2 separate regions of the Homo sapiens genome follow, and region 2 is linked to region 1. The links are contacts of gene promoters, found by promoter capture Hi-C in blood cells and fetal thymus (Javierre and others, 2016). All regions are on one chromosome and are shown on one strand. The core of a region is centred on a gene start or on the middle of the fragment in contact, and the rest is flanking DNA. Distances in the headings are between cores, read along the strand shown. Region 1 holds the start of LATS1 (large tumor suppressor kinase 1). Region 2 overlaps UST (uronyl 2-sulfotransferase).

Region 1 (5,379 bases), core at 2,818-5,317:
GTATTCTGGCTCACTGCAACCTCTGCTTTCCAAGTTCAAGTGATTCTCATGCCTCAGCCTCCGGAGTAGCTGGGACTACAGGTACCCACCACCACACCTGGCTAATTTTTGTATTTTTAGTAGAGACAGGGGTTTGCCACGTTGGCCAGGTTGGTCTTGAACTCCTGACCTCATGTGATCCACACACCTCAGCCTCCCAAAGTGCTGGGATTACAAGCATGAGCTACCACGCCCAGCTATTATTATTTTTGTAAATACAGATGGAGATCTTGCTAGGTTGCCCAGGCTGGTCTCAAACTCCTGAATTCAAGTGTTCCTCCTGCCTCAGCCTCCCAAAATACTGGGATGATACCATGCCTGGTCCACAAAATGTTCTGAAAGATTCCATTGTGACATAGTATTGTGCACTCAAACTGTCATTCAATAGACAATGCAATTAAAGGCATAAGTAATTATTAAATTCAAGCAAGATCACAGAATTTTCAAAGGTAAGACAGACTCAAAAGTCTGCCAAAACTTTTGGAGTTATCTTCAGAAGAAGCTGTTTAATTTCCAGCAATAGGTAATTCAATTAAGAAGAAGAAAAAAAAACTAAGTAAGCAAAAATGAAAGGCAAGCAAAACCCCAGTATTCTTCAATATACCTTAAAATTATACACACAATCATAAAGACAATATAGGTTAAGATAATTAACTAGCATTATGAAAAGCAGCCTGTTATCATGATGTTGCATTAACTAACCGAAGTAATTCAGAAGGATCCTAGATTCTGAATGTGAATAAGGCTGAGACTCAAACTTTATTGTGACAGACGAAAATGGTATACAATTGAATGAATAAATGTATGCTATTATTAATAAAAGCTTTATGTTTACTTTCTTCCTGCTAAAAAATTGCTACTAAATAGATGGCTTATCTTAGATTTAGTGGTATTTCAGAATTGATAAAGTATGATAGTTCAACCTTATTCCTTTAAATACCGATATTGAATTTCATCATGTAGATGTACTATTTTTTATTTATTTATTTATTATTTCTTTATTTCTTTATTTATTTTTGAGACAGAGTCTCACTGTCGCAGGCTGGAGTGCCGTGGTGCCATCTCAGCTCACTGCAACCTCCGTCTCTCGGGTTCAAGTGATTCTCCTGCCTCAGCCTTACAAGTAGCTGGGACTACAGACCCGCGCTACCACACCGAGCTAATTTTTGTATTTTTAGTAGAGATGGGGTTTCACCATGTTGGCCAGGCTGGTCTCGAACTCCAGACCTCAGGTAATCCGCCCTCCTTGGCCTCCCAAAGTGCTGGTTACAGGCGTGAGCCACTGCGCCCGGCTAGATGTACTATTACTTATAAATCCCTGACTGATGGACATTTAGGTTGTTCCTCATTTTTTTGCTAATGTAAAATAATACTGCAAACTGGTAACTTCAATTATACTGGTAATATTCTTGTTCTGAGTTCAGGTGGTAAGTTCATGGATGTTCATTTTATTATGCCTCATAGTTTAATAAAATGAACATATGTATAATATACATATAGCATATTCCTTGCACATAACGAAATTAGTTAATAAAAAAATTGCTGCAATAAAAATTCTTGTGCACACATTGCTGAGCATTTTTCTTAAAATAAATTCCCAGAAGTGGAATTGCTGGATCAAAGAGAATACATATTTAAAATTCTGATACTTATTGTCAGAATGCCTTCTAGAAAGTTATACTAATTTTATAATCCCCACAACAAGGTATGGTTAATACTGGCATTACTAAATCTCAACAATCTTTGCTGCTATGACATGTGAAAATTCAAATTATTACTAGGCAAAAAGAATTTTTAAAATAATTCTTCAAAGCAAAACTGCTTACCTTTTTAACCCACACTACGATGGGGCCAGATTCGTCTTAATAAACAATTCTGATCATGTCACCTACCTACCCCATAACTTTCAATGACTTTAATCTCATGGTTAAAGTAAGAGCTCTGGAATCAAACTGCCTGGGTATGACAGATCGCCATTTTTTTTTTTTTAAAGTTCAGACCCTCATCAAAAATACAAACATCAACAAACAAGTATCATTGATTAGTTTGTCCAACTTAGGAAAAAAAAAATGATACCATTACATAAGATTTCAAAGTGTTAATTTGGGTTGAATTAAGTTTATCAGAAAGGTACCCTGGCTGGGTGCAGTAGTGCACCTGTAGTCCCAGCTACTTGAGAGGCTGTGGTGGGAGGATTGCTCGAGTCCAGGAGTTGGAATCCAGCGCAGGCAACATAGCGAGTTCCCATCTTTAAAGGAAACTGCATACTGACATTTTCTTCAGTTCACTTTCTAATAATTGTCAGATCAAAAGTGAAAGCAACGCTGTATCTTCATGCTGAAAAATGATTGCTGTTCCTACTTAGCGAAAATGTTATTCAATGACTAAATAACTTTTGTGATGTATAACAATCTCCCATTGATGTAAATAAAACATCTAAAATAACCAAATAACCAGGGTTAGAACAGTTCCAACACTATTTATATAGAACAAGGACTTGCAATAAAAACAAAACAAAAATAAAAACGACCTACACAATGAAAGCCAGATATTATACATTAAAAATGTAGTAGAAGTATTTTTTGGTGAGCAGCAAGGCATATTCCATCAATATTTAGGCATAGAATGTGCCATTCCAAGCATGGACCATGATCTAGTTTCTTGCAGTAGCAGCCAATTGGACTAACACAATGCTACTTCTTTTACTGTTCAATCAAATTCCTCCACTGCCTTAAGGAATCAACTACCCCATTTTACCGTCAGAGATAATAAGCTTTGTTTTCGTAGCACAGAACATTCACTCCAATTATAATGTCCTACCTTTTCTTCCTCATGGAGGAAATTTGATAAAAAATTAAGTTTATCAGAAACTTCTGATAAACTGATAAACTGATAAATTTATTAACCTTCAATAAATAATTCATAAAGTTCAAACAAGTTTCATGATCGCTAACATTCAAATCCATTTCCAAAACTGGAGTTATACAATATTACTTCTGTGCATGAGATTATACTTATTGTTCACTAGATTTATGAATAACTTCTGGAGGATGATACATGTTTTAAAAGCCGTATTAACATATGAGTTGACAAACATTAAATTTTGTTCCCTTAGAAATTGACAGAGAAGTCAGAATGGGGATAAATCAAGTCATCTGAGGCATTCATTGAGCTACAAGCTATTTCAGGTTATAAAAAACACTGTTCCCTTAATTGTCGTTCCTTCATTTGCTGTATTTATATACACACTCCTACTCCATAAAGACCTCTCCATCTCTCCCACCTCTTCCAACTATGAACAGTAACCTAAAATCACACTGAACTAGACGTAAGAGACTCCCAGGATTTCTCTAAGGTATACCCAGGATCAAGGCCCTCTGGGATCCAAAGAACTGTAGCTCTTTTACTGCAATTTTCCTTCAGAACCACCTTTCCCGTTCCTTCCCTCCTGGACACCGCCGACTCGCGTGTTGGGGGTGGGGTGGGAGACACGCCGCCAGAAAGACAGGCTCTACCCAGCCAAACCTGCACCTCCGAGGCCGAAAAGCCTGGGGCTCTTCCTGCAGCACCGGGCGCGGCCAACCCTCGCTTCCCCAGGGCAGGGCTCAGCTCGGGTCAATGCAACCAGCCAAGTCAGGCCCGGAGCGGGCCGGCTCTGCCCGCCAGTCCAAACCTCTGGACCCTCGCCAGCGGGGATGGGCGTGGGCCCCGGCGGCCACCGCCCCGCCAACTCGAGCACTGGAGGAGCGCACCCGCTACGCCAGCCCCGGACCTACCTGGAGGGGAGAGCAGAGCTCCTGGACAGCGGCCACGGGCCTGAGGGCGGACGCTGAGGCGGCCAGAGTCCGTCCCAGCAACCCCAAGTATCCCTGGTGGGGCAGAGCGGGGAGACGAACGGGGGGGCTGCCGCGGGCCAGCGCGGCCCGTCCCAGGGGTCGTGAGGACCTGGCTCTCCCCTTAACACCAGGCCACCGCCGCCGCCGCCGCCATTTTGCCTTCCACTCAGTGTCGCCGCCGCCGCACTCCGCTGCAGGTTTCCCGGATGTGGGCATTTCCCGGCGTCGCTTGCGCGGGGGCCGAGGACTGGGGGCTTTTGCCCGCCCGGCTGCTGCGAGGGAGCGCGCAGCCTGCGGCCTCCGGGCTTCGTTGCGTCGCCCGCAGCTCTGATCGTTCGTGAGCGTCGCCCCACGTCGCTCCCGCCTGCCCCTGCCCATACGACTCGCCCGCGCCCGTGGGTTAAGGCTGTCTCCCGCCCAGCCTACTTGGTTGATTCAATCCTTTTCCCCATTGATCTATTTCTCTGGACCGAGTAGGGATGTGCATTTCACGGAGCTACGTTCTCAGAAGGGAACAACTGAGTTGCTCTGGGAAACCTCCCTGTGGACCTCAGAATTCCAGATTTTTGGCGCTTTGAAATAAAATTTTATTCTTGCTTAGCGTTCTTTCCCCGAACAAGCCGGTGAGCTTCCAGCATCTGTATTTTCTGAATCCGGCAGATAAGAAATGCTTGAGCCAGGACCGATTGATTAGCAGCGGTTTAGAGATCTTATCTGTCAACCGCATCCGTAGAAGGAGATCGTTATTGCCATAATTGGAATACCGGTGACGGTGTGACAAGAGGTTTTACTTCTGGTTAAGCTGAATGTAAAGTGTGGGATGGGATCGTTGGGTTTGATGTATAAGGTACGGTCCACCCTTTGTGAAGATCGCCTTTGCCAGTTTTTCCTCTAGGAAATATACAGTTAGTGTTTTCAAGTACCTTCTTTCGTAATTTTTCTACTACAGAGTACAAAAAAATTAAAGACATCTTTTTCTGACGTTAAAGTAATAACTGGCTACTTACTGTATCTAGAAATCCAAATGTGAAAACCCGTTAAAAGATTATGTTCCGGACGGGCGCGGTGTCTCACGCCTGTAATCCCAGCACTTTGGGAGGCCGAGGCGGGCGGATCACGAGGTCAGGAGATCGAGAACATCCTGCCTAACACGGTGAAACCCCGTCTCTGCTAAAAAATCCAGAAAAATTTGCCCGGCGTGGTGGCGGGCGCCTGTAGTCCTAGCTACTCGGGAGGCTGAGGCAGGAGAATGGCAGGAACCCGGGAGGCGGAGCTTGCATTGAGCCGAGATCGCGCCACCGCACTCCAGCCTGGACGACAGAGCGAGACTCCGTCTCAAAAAAAAAAAAAAAAAAAAAAAGATTATGTTCCAAGAACATTTGGTTGAAAGTCTATTTTCTACAAGCACAGAGTTTGTAGAAGGCAATGTGACCCAAGGTGGGTCACTAAAGAGCCCCAGGGCTTACTTTCTTCAACGTAAGGGTGCCCCATAAAGACCTTTTCA
Region 2 (4,820 bases), core at 2,025-4,524, 650 kb before region 1:
TAAAGCGAGGCCTCTGTCCTCCGGTGCAGCAGCTGGGTTTATACAGTATTTCCAGATTGTTTATTCTGGCCCAGAGCCAGGGCTACATCGTTTTTCCATTATGCATGTTTGACAGATGAAGAGAGGTGGGAAGTGGGACTCCCAGGAACAGGTCTGTGATTTCCTTTCTATTTACATTAAAGGGACTTTTAGGAGTACTGAAGATTATGAACCAGTTCAAACATATGTCAATGCAGCAGAGGTAGAGAAGCTGCTATGTTTGCAAAAAATGTTCAGATCTTGGGCAGTAAAACAAAATCAAAGCAAAATCTTGGGCAGTGAGCACATCGTGCTTGTCACTGCCCAGTCTTGCATGCAGACAGGTTACTGGCGAGTGATATTTATCATTCACATCCAGAAGTTAAGCTAGTGTTTGTTTGGCAGGGCATTGGGAGGAGCCCCTGAGTTGGCAAACCAGAATCTGTGTGCAATCCACTGACATATGCATTTCATGCAGATGGGTGTGCCTGGTGCCGGGCAGAGATGTGTTTCCAAGGTCCCAGTAGAACTTTTTCCCTGCAGCCTTTTCCCTGAGCCACCAGCTTTCTGTGGATACTCCCAAAAGCCCGGGCTAAGTTCTTCCACCAGGAAGTGTTCAAGACTGACCAAAGAGCCACAGTTCACATTGTATCCACAGCAAAGTCCTTGGCACATAGGTCAAATGGATGTGATTGAATGACTGTTTTCCTTCTAAATAAAACACTTTCATTTTGCTAATGGAGAAACATCACTAAAAAGTACCAAAAGTGATGGCAAATTAAGTAACTGACCAGCATTCATACAGCAAAGTCAGGTCACACAAATAAATGTCTTTTTACCCAACAGTGTTTGAATCTTCAGTTAATGGCTGGGGTAAATATCACACCCAGCACAAATTCATTAGCTGCAAGACGGTGGCTTCTACATAGCTATTTGTGTTTGTGGTGAACCTTCCTTATCATGGCATGTCTTAAGCTTGGCTAAGTATTTGCAAGCGTTCTGTCACCATAACATAATGTTCTTCAACAGAGTGGCTAAGAAAAGCAAATACCACTACCTCTCCAGAACAACCTGTGATCCAAACCTTCTCTGTCAGCCTACTATCCAGAAATTCAATTTCCAGAAATGGAAAGTTTGCTCAGGAAGGACCCTCAACTAAGGAAGGAATTTAGCTAAAAAGTGAAGTATGCATAGTCAACACTGAAAGTTGCCCTTTGGGTTAATCCAGTCTTGCAGATGGATTTAAAATACAGGTTTCAAATCAACAAACATTTATGGAGGGTGGTTAGGTGCCAGGCATGGAGCTGGACACTGGGGAACTAAAAATGAAAAAGACACAGTCCCTTTCAGTGTGAAAACATTTTTGCTGGCTTGCAAGTTTTTCACCAGATCCTCCCAGACTTACCAAAGCATTCCCCTCATCTTAGAACACTCAAGCCCTTCTTTTCAATGGATTCCCTGAATGCCAGAATACACACAGGGCAAGGAGAAGTGGGTGGTTATAGATTTCCACTCAATTTGGAAATTAACAGCCTGTGGTGTAGCAAAAAGGTGCAAGGCTGAGAATCAGAAAGCCCACTTTCCAGTGCTTGGACTGAAATGTCCTGGCTGTACAGCCTTGAGCTGGTCTTGTGACCTCTGGGGCCCTTGGTATCTGTAAGTAAAATGGGTACTGGGAAGATTGAGCAAGGTAGTGAGGGGCGATGTGAAAGCGCATTAATCCACAGAGCCCTATGAAAATGAGAGGGATGTGCTTCTCTGCAGGACTTGTATGAGAAGTTGCACTGTTCGGGCTACTATTTGTAAAGTTTTAATAATACAGAAAGCAGCCCCCTCCTGGCCTCATGCCAGGTTTTATTCTCTACCAACATTGGGTGGCCAACTACAGATTTTTATGTCACTGGGGGCCAGCTGTTAGAAGAATCTCCACTCAGGACCGTAACTACTCTGTAGTGTCCCTGCCACTCCCTCCCCAGGGACAGCGCAGAGCCTGGAAGTCTATCCCCCTGTGGCCCTGACTCTATGGCTGATTGGACATGTCTATAAAGAAAAAACAATCTCTATTGTGTTCTTTAAATAGAAAGCTCAAAGTTTGTTTTTTTACTTTGTTTTCCCTCTTCTGAACACTTCATAGCTCAAAACCAGTGCCTATTTTGAGGAAATTTTCAATAGTTATCATAAAATTAACTAAGGGAATTATTTGACCAATCCCTAAAGGTAATAAGAAAAAACTTTTTAAAAAAATATCAAAAACATCCTGAAGCCACAGCTTCTTTTTGCCAAAAAGTATTGATGAATTAAAGTAGAGAGGCAGAAAAATGTGCCTTGCCAGCACTATTGGTCCCAAAAGGCAACCAAACCACAAAGTTAAACACTGAAATGTACAGACCCCAGCCAGATGGGAGGGTAGACTGCTTCTCGCTAAGGACCCAGCATTTGTGGGTCTCCTAGGAATTTCTGTGAAACTCCTTCAGATACTGCCTTTGTGCCCAGCTGTCTGTCTCCATCTCACAGACACAGCCAAGCCTTCCTTGAATCTGACAGCACCCTCGTCCTTCTGATGGTTTCTTTTGTTCCCTCAAGAAGCCTGTACAGAGGAGAACTGTGTTTCCCCAGGTGCTGAGCTGTGGAAATACAAAGATAAATGGGGTATCGCTTTTGTCCTGATCACTCAGTATAAAAAGCCTCTTTGGAAGAACAGCTAAATGAAACCTGGTGGAGATGTTAAGAATAAAATCTAGAGAAAATTTTTTAGGAGGTGGATAGTGCCTCAGAGGCCTCCTAAAAGTTTTCCATCTCTTGATTGAAACACACACAGAATCTATACTCTCAGACGTGCACACACAGCACATACGGCAAATCTTCATGATCTTGTAGTAAGTATGAAAGACCCAACTCCATGCAGAGTATTTAAGATAAGCCCAATAAGCCTGGTCTCCCTGGTGAGGATTTCTGACCAAACAGAAGAAATGTTGACTCCAGCAAATGAATCAGAGTGAGATGCCCTCTCTGCCCCCATGGTGACAAGCCTTGTGAGCAGGCATCTCCCTTAGACTGTGAGCTCCATCCACTCGTCAGCAATGTGGAGAGTTAAGAACCTGGGCTCATTAGTCAGACTTCCCCACACCCAACTTCGGGCTTCACCACTTACCAGCTGTGTGAGCCTGCACAAACTTCTAAATTCCAATGCCACAGCTTTAAATGGTGATAATAAGAGACCTCTACAGCACTGGGAGCTTTATAAGGATTAAATGTGTGTTTAGATATCTTACAATTCTTGGCACAGAGAAAGCTCTCAAAGTGCCAACTGATGATGATGATGATGGTGATGATGATGATGCCCCATTCACTGCAACAATTCCTGTGCGTGGTGCAGAATAGCTATTCAACAAATCTTTGCAGAAAGAGGGAAGGAAGATGATATTGGGCACACCAGTGAGGCCTAATTGAAGCCTTGATTTTGACGAGAAGCACTTACTCTCTAGGTTTATGAAAGCCTGAATTTTAGAATCTTTAAAGCAGAAGCATAAAACTCGACTTTCTATAACAGCCAGTCAGGTAACATAAAAGAATGAACCGGCATTTAGAGTCTGAGGCAAACTGGAAAGCCCTGGCCTCTTTCACGGGGGCAGTCACACTTGGCTCCAGAAGAATGTAGCCGCCCTTTGAGAAAAGCCAGAAATCCAGCTTTCCATGTGAAATAGACCAAGCCTTACAACAACTGAATCCATTTCTAAAAAAAAAAAAATACCCCACGGGCCAAACAACACATTGCCTGCCAGTCCGATCTTGGGCTGCCTTTTTGCCACCCTGTCTTAAAGGGAGGAGCTCTGTATTCGTCTCTTTCTTTTAAAATGTTTATCAGTGGGCACAAGAGACATGAGCCCCTTGAAGTTACTCTCAGTTCCTGCTAGGATCAGAGAACGCTCATGGAGTGAGGTCTTCACTTCTTCATGGTTAATCCGACAGTATGTGCTCACCTAACGAGGGCTTCTTCCCTTCCCAAGGAATGCTACTAATAAGTATAGATTTTTAAAGCATAATTGTTTTGTGGCTGAAATAACAACAATTATTTGAAAAAAAATCCTAACAACTTCCTCTAGAGCTGCTATTATGGCAGTCTGGAGAGAGGCTGATTCCATAGTCCATGTAGCTTTGTTTTGTTTGGATGGAAAGTCTGGCATTTTACAAAAATGTGGAAAACTTAGCAATGGAATGACTTTTCCATAGCACCGATTATCGTACAGCAAGACACACATCCATATGTCTTTGAAATGAGATTTTTAAGAATTCTCTGCTTATTATACAAGACAAACCACCTCTGGTCTTTCCATATGAAGGTGATAGTTTTCTACAGGCTCATGAAAGCTGCCCTGGTTATGGTGCAGTACTTAAAGTTAGGGAAAAATCTCAACATAGATGGGGACCCAGATTCAAATTCGTTTTTTCACTTACCAGCCAGCTATGTGACCTTGGGTAAGTTTCTATTTCTCCATCTGCAAAAGAGGGGTCATGATATTCACCTCACAGGGTTATTGAGAATATCAAATAAAATAATGTATATGATGATCCAAACTCATAATGGGTGTTCCCCATCAATATTGGTTGAATCTGAGTCTCTGTTTCTCCTGGCACAAAATAGCACTCCTGTTTCTGACCGCGACATAACCCTCTGGCAATGTCATTAACCTTATTAAATTTGGCAGCTCTGTGGAAAACGAAGGTCAAAAAAGCTGTCATTGTTTATATAAACTGTTCATTTTGTTGTTCACAGTGCTATGAGGACTAAAGGATAGAGGGTT

Evidence for each region. The method cuts DNA at HindIII sites, captures the fragments that hold promoters and counts their contacts. A CHiCAGO score of 5 or more calls a contact.
Region 2: a fragment that was not itself captured here is called in contact with the fragment with the promoter of LATS1 in region 1 in 2 of 17 cell types (naive CD4 T cells and naive CD8 T cells); the score reaches 8.7 in naive CD4 T cells.

What each region holds. Positions count from the first base shown.
Region 1 is chr6:149,714,034-149,719,412 of GRCh38, forward strand. It overlaps LATS1 (large tumor suppressor kinase 1), which reads right to left and starts at 4,068. Exons shown (of 8, transcript NM_004690.4): 1 at 3,816-4,068. It overlaps LOC645967 (a long non-coding RNA gene), which reads left to right and starts at 3,588. Exons shown (of 1, transcript NR_134652.1): 1 at 3,588-4,863. RefSeq lists a silencer at 3,558-3,947. The HindIII fragment of the contact is 4,826 bases long and covers 2,811-5,379 here.
Region 2 is chr6:149,061,141-149,065,960 of GRCh38, forward strand. All of the region lies in intron 7 of UST (uronyl 2-sulfotransferase), which reads left to right. Among named protein-coding and RNA genes, the nearest start is that of UST-AS2, 31 kb to the left of the region's middle. RefSeq lists an enhancer at 4,752-4,820. The HindIII fragment of the contact is 4,566 bases long and covers 992-4,820 here.